2 separate regions of the Homo sapiens genome follow, and region 2 is linked to region 1. The links are contacts of gene promoters, found by promoter capture Hi-C in blood cells and fetal thymus (Javierre and others, 2016). All regions are on one chromosome and are shown on one strand. Each heading gives the region's core, a stretch centred on a gene start or on the middle of the fragment in contact. The rest is flanking DNA. Distances are from core to core; before and after follow the strand shown. Region 1 holds the start of FRRS1 (ferric chelate reductase 1). Region 2 overlaps CDC14A (cell division cycle 14A).

What was found. The method cuts DNA at HindIII sites, captures the fragments that hold promoters and counts their contacts. A CHiCAGO score of 5 or more calls a contact.
Region 2: a contact is called between a fragment that was not itself captured here and the fragment with the promoter of FRRS1 in region 1, in 1 of 17 cell types (erythroblasts). The highest score is 6.3, in erythroblasts.

The regions. Positions count from the first base shown.
Region 1 is chr1:99,762,739-99,768,143 of GRCh38, reverse strand. FRRS1 (ferric chelate reductase 1) reads left to right here and starts at 1,509. Exons shown (of 17, transcript NM_001361041.2): 1 at 1,509-1,537. The HindIII fragment of the contact is 6,315 bases long and covers 1-1,762 here.
Region 2 is chr1:100,495,128-100,500,089 of GRCh38, reverse strand. It overlaps CDC14A (cell division cycle 14A), which reads right to left. Exons shown (of 16, transcript NM_003672.4): 13 at 4,041-4,088; 14 at 1,883-2,005; 15 at 828-1,161. Among named protein-coding and RNA genes, the nearest start is that of GPR88, 41 kb to the left of the region's middle. The HindIII fragment of the contact is 1,427 bases long and covers 1,837-3,263 here.

The DNA of each region.
Region 1 (5,405 bases), core at 260-2,759:
TTTGACTCTGAAACAAAATTGGTAGTAGCCCTTTCCTGAATAGACCCCCTTCTTGCCTGGGGACCAGTCTGCCTTTGCAGGACCAACAAATTAGCTACAAGATTAGAAATTATGGTTTAGGGGTCATGCAGCCTCTGGCTCCAAGAGTCTGAACCTCCCCAAATTGCTCCTGGGGATAACATCACTATTGTAAAACCTAAGATCAGTGCTTGAGATATTTTGCAGAGCCTGGACTCGGTGGATCAGCTGATGCCACACAGACCGGTAATTGGGCTCACCCAGTTCTGCCATCCCACCCAGGAACAGAAGACAGCAAGAAAACCTCACGTCGACCCCCCATGATTCCATCTCCAATCTGACCAATTAGCACTCCCACTTCCCAAGCCCCTACCCGCCAAATTATCTTTAAAAATTCTGATCTCCGAATCCTGGGGAGACTGTGTTGAGTAATAATAGAACTCCGGGCTGGGCGCGGTGGCTTATGCCTGTAATCTCAGCACTTTGGGAGGCTGAGGCAGGTGGAATCACTTGAGGTCAGGAGTTCCAAACTAGCCTGGCCAACATGGTGAAACCCTGTCTCTGCTAAAATACAAAAATTAGCCGGGCGTGGTGGCGGGCGCCTGTAGTCCCAGCTACTGGGGAGGCTGAGGCAGGAGAATCGCTTGAACCTAGGACGGGGAGGCTGCAGTGAGCCGAGATCATGCCACCGCACTCCAGCCTGGGCCACAGACAGAGACTCCGTCTCAAAACAAAACAAAACAAAACAAACAAACAAACAAAACAAAAAACTCCGGTCTCCTGCACAGCCAGCTCTGCGTGAATTACTCTTTCTCCATTGCGATTCCCCTGTCTTGATAAATCGGCTCTGTCTAGACAGCGGGCAAGGTGAACCCACTGGGCAATTACAATGTCACTCAAGGTCTGAAATGGAATGTTTAATATTTTCAATTACATTAAAGAGAAGAAAAAAAGTAAAAAACAGGAAAACAAAAAACAAAATAAAAACAAAGATTGTTAAAAATTCAATTACATTGTCTTTTCCTAGCCCTAAAATTTTTCTTTTGCAAAAGAGTCTTGTGAAACAGATTAAAGGCTTAAAAAGAAACAAAACTCCTAAATTTCAGGGGTAATTTGCAAAATAAAAGATTTCTTTTGCATTATATCATTCACACTGCAGAAAGGTTTCGGTTCTATGCAATCTGATCTTTTTCCACTTTTTAAAAGTTAATTTGCTTTTACTTAGCACTATTATAGAACAGGTATTTTCAAATAGTTTTGCAATTAAACACAAAAACTATAATTTTTGTGGCGAAGTAGGTACTAGTTGGCAAACACTGTTCCTTAGTGTAAAACAGAATTCTAAGTTTTCAGAAATGGAGTCCTAAAACTAGCACTGGTCTTGCAAATCAAGTTCTGCAGCTTAGTTTGGGAAAGGTTCCCTTTTGGCTCAAGGCTTAACTGGCTCCACCCAGCTGCTGAAATGTGATACAAGTTGTAACAAAACCGGAAGTTGGTTAGGCTGCCTTCGCTTCTCAAGGTAAGTGTCACGTCTTTTTCCTTAATGTCAAAGCTCTTTGTAAAGCGTTAAAAATCAAATCCAGCTTAGCGACAGACTGGAGAGCGAGTGCCTGTGCTGACCAGGGCAGTCGGCCAGGCAGAACGGGTGCTGTATTCCGAAACTATGTTCTGGAGCTTGAATTGAGCTAATGAGTGTTCACTAACGAGTTAGGTTAATATGTCCTGTGACTTTGACTAACAAGCTTTAATTCCAAGATATGGGTGGTTATAAGTAGAGACGTGTTTGGGATCCTGAAAATCATTGACTTTATTCTTGCAGGAGTTTTTTTTTTGTTTTTAATTTTAAATTTAAAACTGTAGGAACTCTTTTTTTATATTTAAAGCTAGTGGCATGGTTACCTATATCAGGGTCACTTAGAACCTTATTTGGTTTTTAAAGTGGCTTTTTATCTAGAACTTTTAGTCCCCTTACCCTCCCACTCCCTAGCCCTGGTGTGTCGTTAAAATTTCAGAAAGACTCCAGGGTGGCAAGGTGTTATCACTGCACTTATTTTTGTGTGTGCTTGTCATACTGCCCTAAAGGGTAAAGGGGATTTTTCAAATTGTAAATGTGTTATTAGGAATATTTCTTAACATAGCTAAACTTTTCAGTTCAGATATTTTCATTTGCTTCTGTATTTTTATTTTTTATTTTTATTTATTTATTTATTCATTTATTTTTGAGACGGAGTCTCGCTCTGTCCGCCAGGCTGGAGTGCAGTGGCGCGATCTCGGCTCACTGCAAGCTCCGCCTCCCGGGTTCAAGCGATTCTTCTGCTTCAGCCTCCTGAGTATACTGCTGGGATTACAGGCGCCCGCCACCACGCCCGGCTAATTTTTTGTATTTTTAGTAGAGACGGGGTTTCACTGTGTTGGCAAGGATGGTCTCTATCTCCTGACCTCGTGATATGCCCGCCTCCGCCTCCCAAAGTGCTGGGATTACAGGCTTGAGCCACCGCGTCTGGCCTATTTATTTATTATTTTCGAGACGGAGTGTTGCTCTTGTGGCCCAGGCTGGAGTGCAACGGCGGGATTTCGGCTCACTGCAACCTCTGCCTCCCGGGTTCAAGCAATTCTCCTGCCTCAGCCTCCTGAGTAGCTGGGATTACAGGCAGGCACCACCACACCCGGCTAATTTTGTATTTTTAGTAGAAACGGGGTTTCTCCATGTTGGTCAGTCTGGTTTCGAACTCCCAGCGTCAGGTCATCTGCCTGCCTCGGCCTCCCAAAGTGCTGGGATTACAGGCGTGAGCCACCGCGCCCAGCCACTTCTGTATTTTTAAAAAAGTGGTAAGATTTGAGTATTATACTGGGATAGAACTGAAGTTGGGGGCTTAATTTGATCTATCAGCTTATTGAAAACAAAGACCTTTTAAGAGATGGTTTTGTTAGGTTGGAGAAGTGAGTTTTAGTTCGTCATTTAGTTAGCCAGTATGTTGATTTTTTTGGTGAAGTGTACTCTCTGTTTCACACCTGTCAGCTTTTTTAATATTGGATTTTCTCAAAATTCACATAACAATCACACTGTATGAGTACTGTTTTGAAGGTTGTCTGCTAGTCAGAATGAATGGAGATCAATGTGTAGGACACCTTTACTGATATCCAGAGGTTTACCAAAAGACAAGTCACCAAATGTGGCAGAAAAACATGATAAAATTTATTAGGAAAAACTAAAGCTTATGGAGTGAACAGTTATTTCAGGTTGGTGGAATTAGGCAAGAATCCAAGAAAGGAAGACAGTTTTATATGGGAGACTTTGTTAATGGTGGTCATTGTGCTAGATATTTTGGAGATAGTATTTTATTTAATCCTCATGCAAGCCATTGATATTGGTGGCATTGTCTCTAACAAGTGAGAAAACTAAGACTCAGTAAGGTTAAATAATTTGTCCAGGGTCACTATGGTGGTGCCTGCTGGATTACATTAATGGACAGATTCAAACCTAGGTCTGTGATATTTCAAAGTCCATACACTTCATTGTATCATAGGACAGTAGTTGACGGCGTTTTAAATGGATCTTGAAAGAGGGGTGAAGGTCTTCTTTATCAAAACAAACAAAAATAGTAAAAGTAACATAGAATGTTTGAAAATAGAAAAAAGAAAATATCTAACCACCTTCAAATCAGTTTCTGTACAGTCTTACATGTACATACTTTGTAGTGTTTTTTGAAATTATAAAACACTACATGCTTTAAAAAAAATGCACATTATAAAGGGCATTAAAGAAAGGAAGCCCACTCTTCCCATCCTGAAAACACATACCTTCCTAAGGGGTAAACACTGTTGAGAACAATTGGAAGCATGTATAAAGGTTTTTTTCTTTTCCTTTTAAGTTATGTATATTTTGGTACATTCCATATCATTTTGCAGTTTTCTTGTTTTGATTCCTCAGTGGAGCATGAGCATGTATCTTCTTAACATGCAGATTCATGTCTTGGGATTTTTGTGAAATGAGTTCATACTTGCAAAGTACTTAAAACAATGCCTACCTCCTAGAATGCACTCAATAATTATTAGCTGATGTATTTGTTATCTGTTTACTCTATTTCATTTTGTTAACGTTTAGCAAGTATTATATAGTTTGGGTATAGCGTAGTTTATTTTTGTAACCACTTAAATTATCCAACATTTTTGCTACTGGAAATAATCCTTGCTTAACTGTATGGGTTTTTCTGTAAGATATATTTCTTTTCTTTTCATTCTTTTTTTTTTTTTTTTGAGACAGAGTTTCACTCTTGTTGCCCAGGCTGGAGTGCAATGGTGCCATCTCGGCTCACCTCAACCTCTGCCTCCAGGGTTCAAGCGATTCTTCTGCCTCAGCCTCCCGAGTAGCTGGGATTACAGGCATGCACCCCCAAGCCCGGCTACTTTTGTATTTTTAGTAGAGAAGGGGTTTCTCCATGTTGGTCAGGCTGGTCTCGAACTTCTAACCTTAGGTGATCTGCCCGCCTGGGCCTCCCAAAGTGCTGGGATTACAGGTGTCAGCCACTGCGCCCGAACTGTAAGATACATTTCTAGAAATGAAATTTCCAGGTCAGAGGATAAACATTTTTAATTTACTAAGATATTGTTAACATCTAAAAATGTGACAGTTTACCATTGTCCCTGTGTATGAGAGTGCTCGTTTCTTCACATCCTTGCTTATATCAGATATTATTACTCTTTTGCATATTACATGAAATAATGGGGAATACACAGTTCTACCTAGTTTGAGCATAGTGTACAGAGATTATTGTATCTTATTTTTCAGTGTAACATTTATTTTTATATGGACAGGAATTTAACCAAATTCCTGTCCATATAAAAATAGGGGGTCCCATTTAGGGGAAAAATAGGGGTCCCATTTAGAAGGCAAAACTTCAGGAGAAAAAGAAGCTTATTCCTGGAATAGCAGATGGCACATTGTTATTACAGTATAGGGAAAAAAAATTCTTGAAATTTTGGTTGTGTAGAAAAGTATAAAATATTAAATGTCGAGTGCCTTTGCTTCTTAATCTAATAATTCTTGGGAAGCTGCTGAGTGTTTTGCGGGGAGAGGAGAGGTATAATGAGAATTGTACCTTAGGAAAATAATCCTGTGTTGAGGAGATACAGAAACAGGGAGACCAGTTGAAAGTGTTTTATTAATCTGAGTGAAGGTAATGAAGTCTTCATGCTTGGAGGTGGTGGCAGAAAGGAAAACACTAGACAAATGTAATAGAATGGAAAGTAGAAGAGAGTTGCAAGAGGGATAGGTAGAGTGCAGAATTGGTGGAGGTAGAATCTGCAGAGCTTGTGTGGAAGTTGGGGACCAAAAGAGTGTTTGGAATCCAATCCTGAGAGTTCGGGGTTTGAAATCCTGCTGATGA
Region 2 (4,962 bases), core at 1,301-3,800, 730 kb before region 1:
AGGCAATCAAAACAGGTTATTAAAGTAATTCATAATAGGAGTTTACCAACAGAGTTTACCTTACCAGGTATTGTTGATTGTTAAAGAGAGCTTGGTAACCTAAATAGAGATCTCATTGGTAAGATGTGTTTGGAGGTCTTCCCACCTTTCTCTAGAAGAGTGCTGGCTACTTTTAAACACCTTCCTGATACTCTGCTTGCTCCCCACCTTGCATCCCAGGTACCTACCTATAAGCCCTTCTTAGAAATATCTTCCACTTGCCACTTATTTTATTCTGGGTCAGTTCCTTGCAGGAGGTGAAATATTCAAGGGCCTAATGCTTAGTTCTAGGAAGATACTGTTCACTCAGCACCTTCCACGTTTCAATACTCCAAAATTAATTCACTGATATATGATGCGGAAAAAGCCATAATTCCCCAAACCAGCGCACCCCCAGCAAATGCTATCCACTGTATGAATCAGCTCCTGGCTTAGCACCAGATATTCAGAGTGATTGGAAACATAACTGAAAAGTAACTGAAGTCAACAATGCCCATAATCAAAAGAATGAAAGCTATTTCCCTTTTAAGAGAAACTACTTAAAAAGGAGTTGGGGGTAAGAAGAAAAAGAAGGAAGGAAGAAAACCCAGTTGTGACTTGGCGTTTACTTGAAGAGGAGCTAGCAGAATGTAGTGCATAGACAGTTTCACAGCACAGAGGGAAGGCATCGCTCAGAAGGCTTCCTTGGCACTATTAAATTTCTTTGGTGGCAGCCTCGGCTGGGAAGGCAAGGCACAGAAGTTGCATTCAGGGTTCTGAGGACCAGGAGGTGGTGTCTGCGCACTTACAGGGATAGAACGGCTCAGGAATCTCGCTGAAGAAGAAGAAAGCCCGGTGTAGGAGGGTCGGAGGATGGTGGTGTGCTCCTCTGTCTTGGCGCTGTGGGGGCCTGGGGGGCTGTTCAGGTTGCCCCCGTTGCTGTTGCTGCTTCTGTTGTACTGATTATTGTTGAGCTCAGGGTAATTTCTGGTAGTTGGCTGGGAGCTGCCATTCAAGAGGTTGGTAAACGGGCTGGCTGTGAAGCCTGCCTTAGAGGATGAGGAGGTCTTTTTGTTCTCTGGATCATCTGTTGCAGCATTCAAGTTCCCTAGAGAACTGGCTAGCCGGGAGTTTATGGAAAAGCTGAATGGAAAACACAAGTGAGGAGGGAAAAAACAGACAACAATGTACAATCACACAGAGCTCACGTTTCTAAAACACATACTCATGACATTAGGGGAACATGATGAAGATGAATCTGATCAATGTGAATGATGTCAGGATGGCTTCCTCATCACCCTTGGTGTTATGATAATATGTAGCCTTGAGTTATACATATCAAGTTGCTTTGTCAAAAGCAGTTAACTAGGACCCAAGAAACTGGCTAAAACACTTTGACTACAGATCTTGAAATAGAACATCACAGAGTTTTATTTACCCTGGGGTGGGAAGTAAAGGAAAAGGGCCATGTAAGGGGAGCATTAAAAGCAGACTTAAGTACATATTCAATCACATGACTACATCAAACATCCCTACCCATTTTGGTTAGTTCTCCCTTGCCTATACGTGTCAGCTGAGAAATGACAATATCATTTGTATATACAACTGAACTCCATTTTCTGGATCACACTAAGCCAGCTGCTCACTCTCTAGAAGAAGAGCACGCTTTGCACCATTCCCTCCACAACCTTGTCTCCTGCCTTCCCAAGACAGGAACGGAAGCCCCAGAACATCACAGGGTCTTCCGTGGTTTCTCCTCTTCTCCCTTGTCCCCTCCTCTGACAAAACTGCAGCTAAACTCATCGCCTGCTGCAAGCTTCCTTTACCTCAAACCAGCACCTTAGAAGAGGGAGAGAAAAATTACCTTCTTACAGTGGCACCCGAAGACAAAGAAGTTCTGTTGATCCTCTTGGCCGTTGCTGAAGGGGACAGTGCCATTTTTGATGTCTTCAAAGTAACTGCAGATCCTTGCAGGGATGAACTTAATCTTTGCGGAGAAAAATGGCAAAGTGTCACAATAAAGTAGTCTTATCTTAAACATTCAGCAACTAACTAGGACAAGATAAATTAATCAATCTTAAAGATATCATGACAGGTCCTAATAGTGATGACAGCAGCGGCAGCCACCACTGACACAGCACTAACTCTGCCAGGCACTGTTCTAAGAACCTTAAAGATGTCAGCTCAGCTTGTCCTTACAACAACCCTAAGAAGTAGCTAATATTGCTGTCCTTACTTTACAAGTGAGGAAACAAAAACACAGAGGAAAAGTTCCTCATCCAGTCACTCAGTTAGTGAACAGCAGACCTGGGATTCAAACCCAGGAGTCAAAGTCCTGCTCTTAGCCATGATCCTGTCTTCCTGGGCCACTGCCCTTCTTTGCCACTGGTATTCATTCCTCAGCACAACCTTAGATTCCACTTCTTATATGTCAAATCCATCCTCTTCTTTTCACCCTGCAAACTACCCTAGGCGAGGCCATCTTTATTTCTTATCCTTGACTACAAGTGGCATCTTTTAATCTTATTCCTAAACAATTCAAATTGTGAATAGCCTTCAGTGAATCATGTCACTTCACTGTTTAAATCATTTCATCTTTCCTCTGTGCCCACAAGCCTATAGAAACTCTTTGGCTTGGCATATGCAGCCCCTCCAAAATCTGGACAGGTCCTTCTTTCCACACTTTCCCATTGGACATCTCTATTCCAGCTACATAAGAATGCCTTGAGTTCCCTGAATGGGTAGCGTCCACACGTTTGTCCAGTTTGCACAGACTATTTCCCTGCCATGGCATTTTCTCATCTCCTTCCCATCCTCTACCTCTTATCTTCCATGTCCATTTGACCCACTTCTATCACACTTAGCCTTTAATGGTCCAATCAGCTGTTACCTCATCAAGCAAGCCTTCTCTGAGTTCCCAAGCAATATATGTTTCATCATATATTCTCATAGTAAATCATAGCTCTTATACCATATTGCGTCATCTGATATTTGTCTATCTCCGTTACCTGATGTAAGCTCCTTGAGGGCAAAGACTTCTCTCTCATTTCAATTCCCAGTGGCTAGCACAATGCTGGATTCTGAGCAGGTGCTCAATAAATATTTGCCAAGTGGACAAAAAGGAAAAACTGACTCAAATCTGGAGAGCCAGGGCCCAGTCATAATCTTAATACCAAATCTGTTTGATCCTAGATAAATCATTTAATATAGCTGAACTCTGTTTTCCTCTCTGCTAGAGAAAAGCTTATTTACTTGTAGACTCTTTCCTTCATTATCCACCCACCAAACAGCAGCTTAAGCTCATGTTTTGCCTCCAAAATAAAAATGGAAAAAGTTCTACAAAGAAGCAATTCAAGCTTCTCCAGAAGCTCCAGATGCTTAAGCCCTCTTTGAACTGCCCTCACTAAACAGTCCTAAACCTAAGAATGAATAAGAACCAGCAGGTGAAGAGCTTCTTTCCCCTATTTCATCAACACTCTTGGCCAAACATCTCTGCTGCTCTCACTGAGTGCCACACCAGATCGTGGTACCACTCCCGGAGGTTTCAGGGGACATTTTTCCACAGAACAAAACTAGTGTTTCCTCTTGAAAAGGAAGGTAGAGAAGAAAATAAGACTAGAAAATAAAGGAGGGGAACAAATGCATGCTGATTGGGAAAAAATAGAAAGAGGACCAATAAAAATGAAAACAATTTAAGCTAGATCTATCACTAGATCAAAAGGAGAAATGCAGAGCACCTGTAGTTTCTTAGAGACCCCCCTCCACAATGTGCTAAGAGCACAAAATACATTGATGTCTCTACCACCACCACACAGTCCTGTGGGCATGCCAGCAAAAAAAAAAAAAAATCCTTTTCATGGTGAGCATTAAAAATAAGGCATAAACAATATGGAAGAGAAAGGAAGCAATTTAAAAAGCAAAAAGCTGTGTACAGTTGATTTTCGTGTTTGAGGCTTGGGAAACATGGCTAAAAGGAAGCATATATTTACAAGCTACTAGACATTCAACCTCATTGGCAGTACCTGAAAGGCTGGGACACTGCTCTTGGATGTCCTTTTGTATCATCTGACCTGCGGAAATCAAAGACAGATGCTCACATATCACCAGGGCACACGTTTTCACAAAGACCACAAGGCACATCAAATGGTATCAAACCAGTAAAAATATTAAATTAGCAAAAGGGAGAAACCTTGCAAATGGATATTAGATTACCCAGAACCAGGCTTGCTATCCCCTTTTCTCATAATACTGCAGAAAATGATAACCTCATCTTTGAGCAATATGAACCTTTATTCCTTAGATCAGGAACTCAGTAAAGACCCAATCTGACTACAGTGTTATAGTTTCTCCCAGATTACACATGAAAACTAAATTCCCTGTGAATCTGTTTGGTGTTTACCATACCGGCAAAACATCCTTCTGCTATGTGTATCTCTTATTTATAAGTCAAAAAAATGTTGCTGCTTACCATTATATTAATTTGTGGACTGGGGCCTTGCCACCCAGTATATTGTAATTTTAAAAAATGATGATATTTACAAACGTTTGCACCTTTTGATTCCCCTTTTTTTAAACCCAATCTGAGCTATCAGCAGGTTTCAAATGTGATCAGAAGTCAAGTCCCATCATTGATTCTGGTGAGTAGTTTGAGACTTCAAAGTCAAGATGGCTTATAACTTTACAGGCACAGGTAAGAATTGCTTATTCAATTTTCAAAAATAGAAGGTAAAGCTGAGGAACTAGCTTAGATTGCCAGAGACTGGCATACAATACTTTTATATACACTATGAGTCAATACAACAGCCTCAGCACACCTGTGAGGATCCAACACAGGACAAGAAACTCATTCACAGCAGAAGGGGAGAAATCCAAACAGAATTTGAAACAGAGTCCCAGAGATAACTGCTTTGCAGCTTAAGGTAGAATTCCAGAGACTGAGATGGC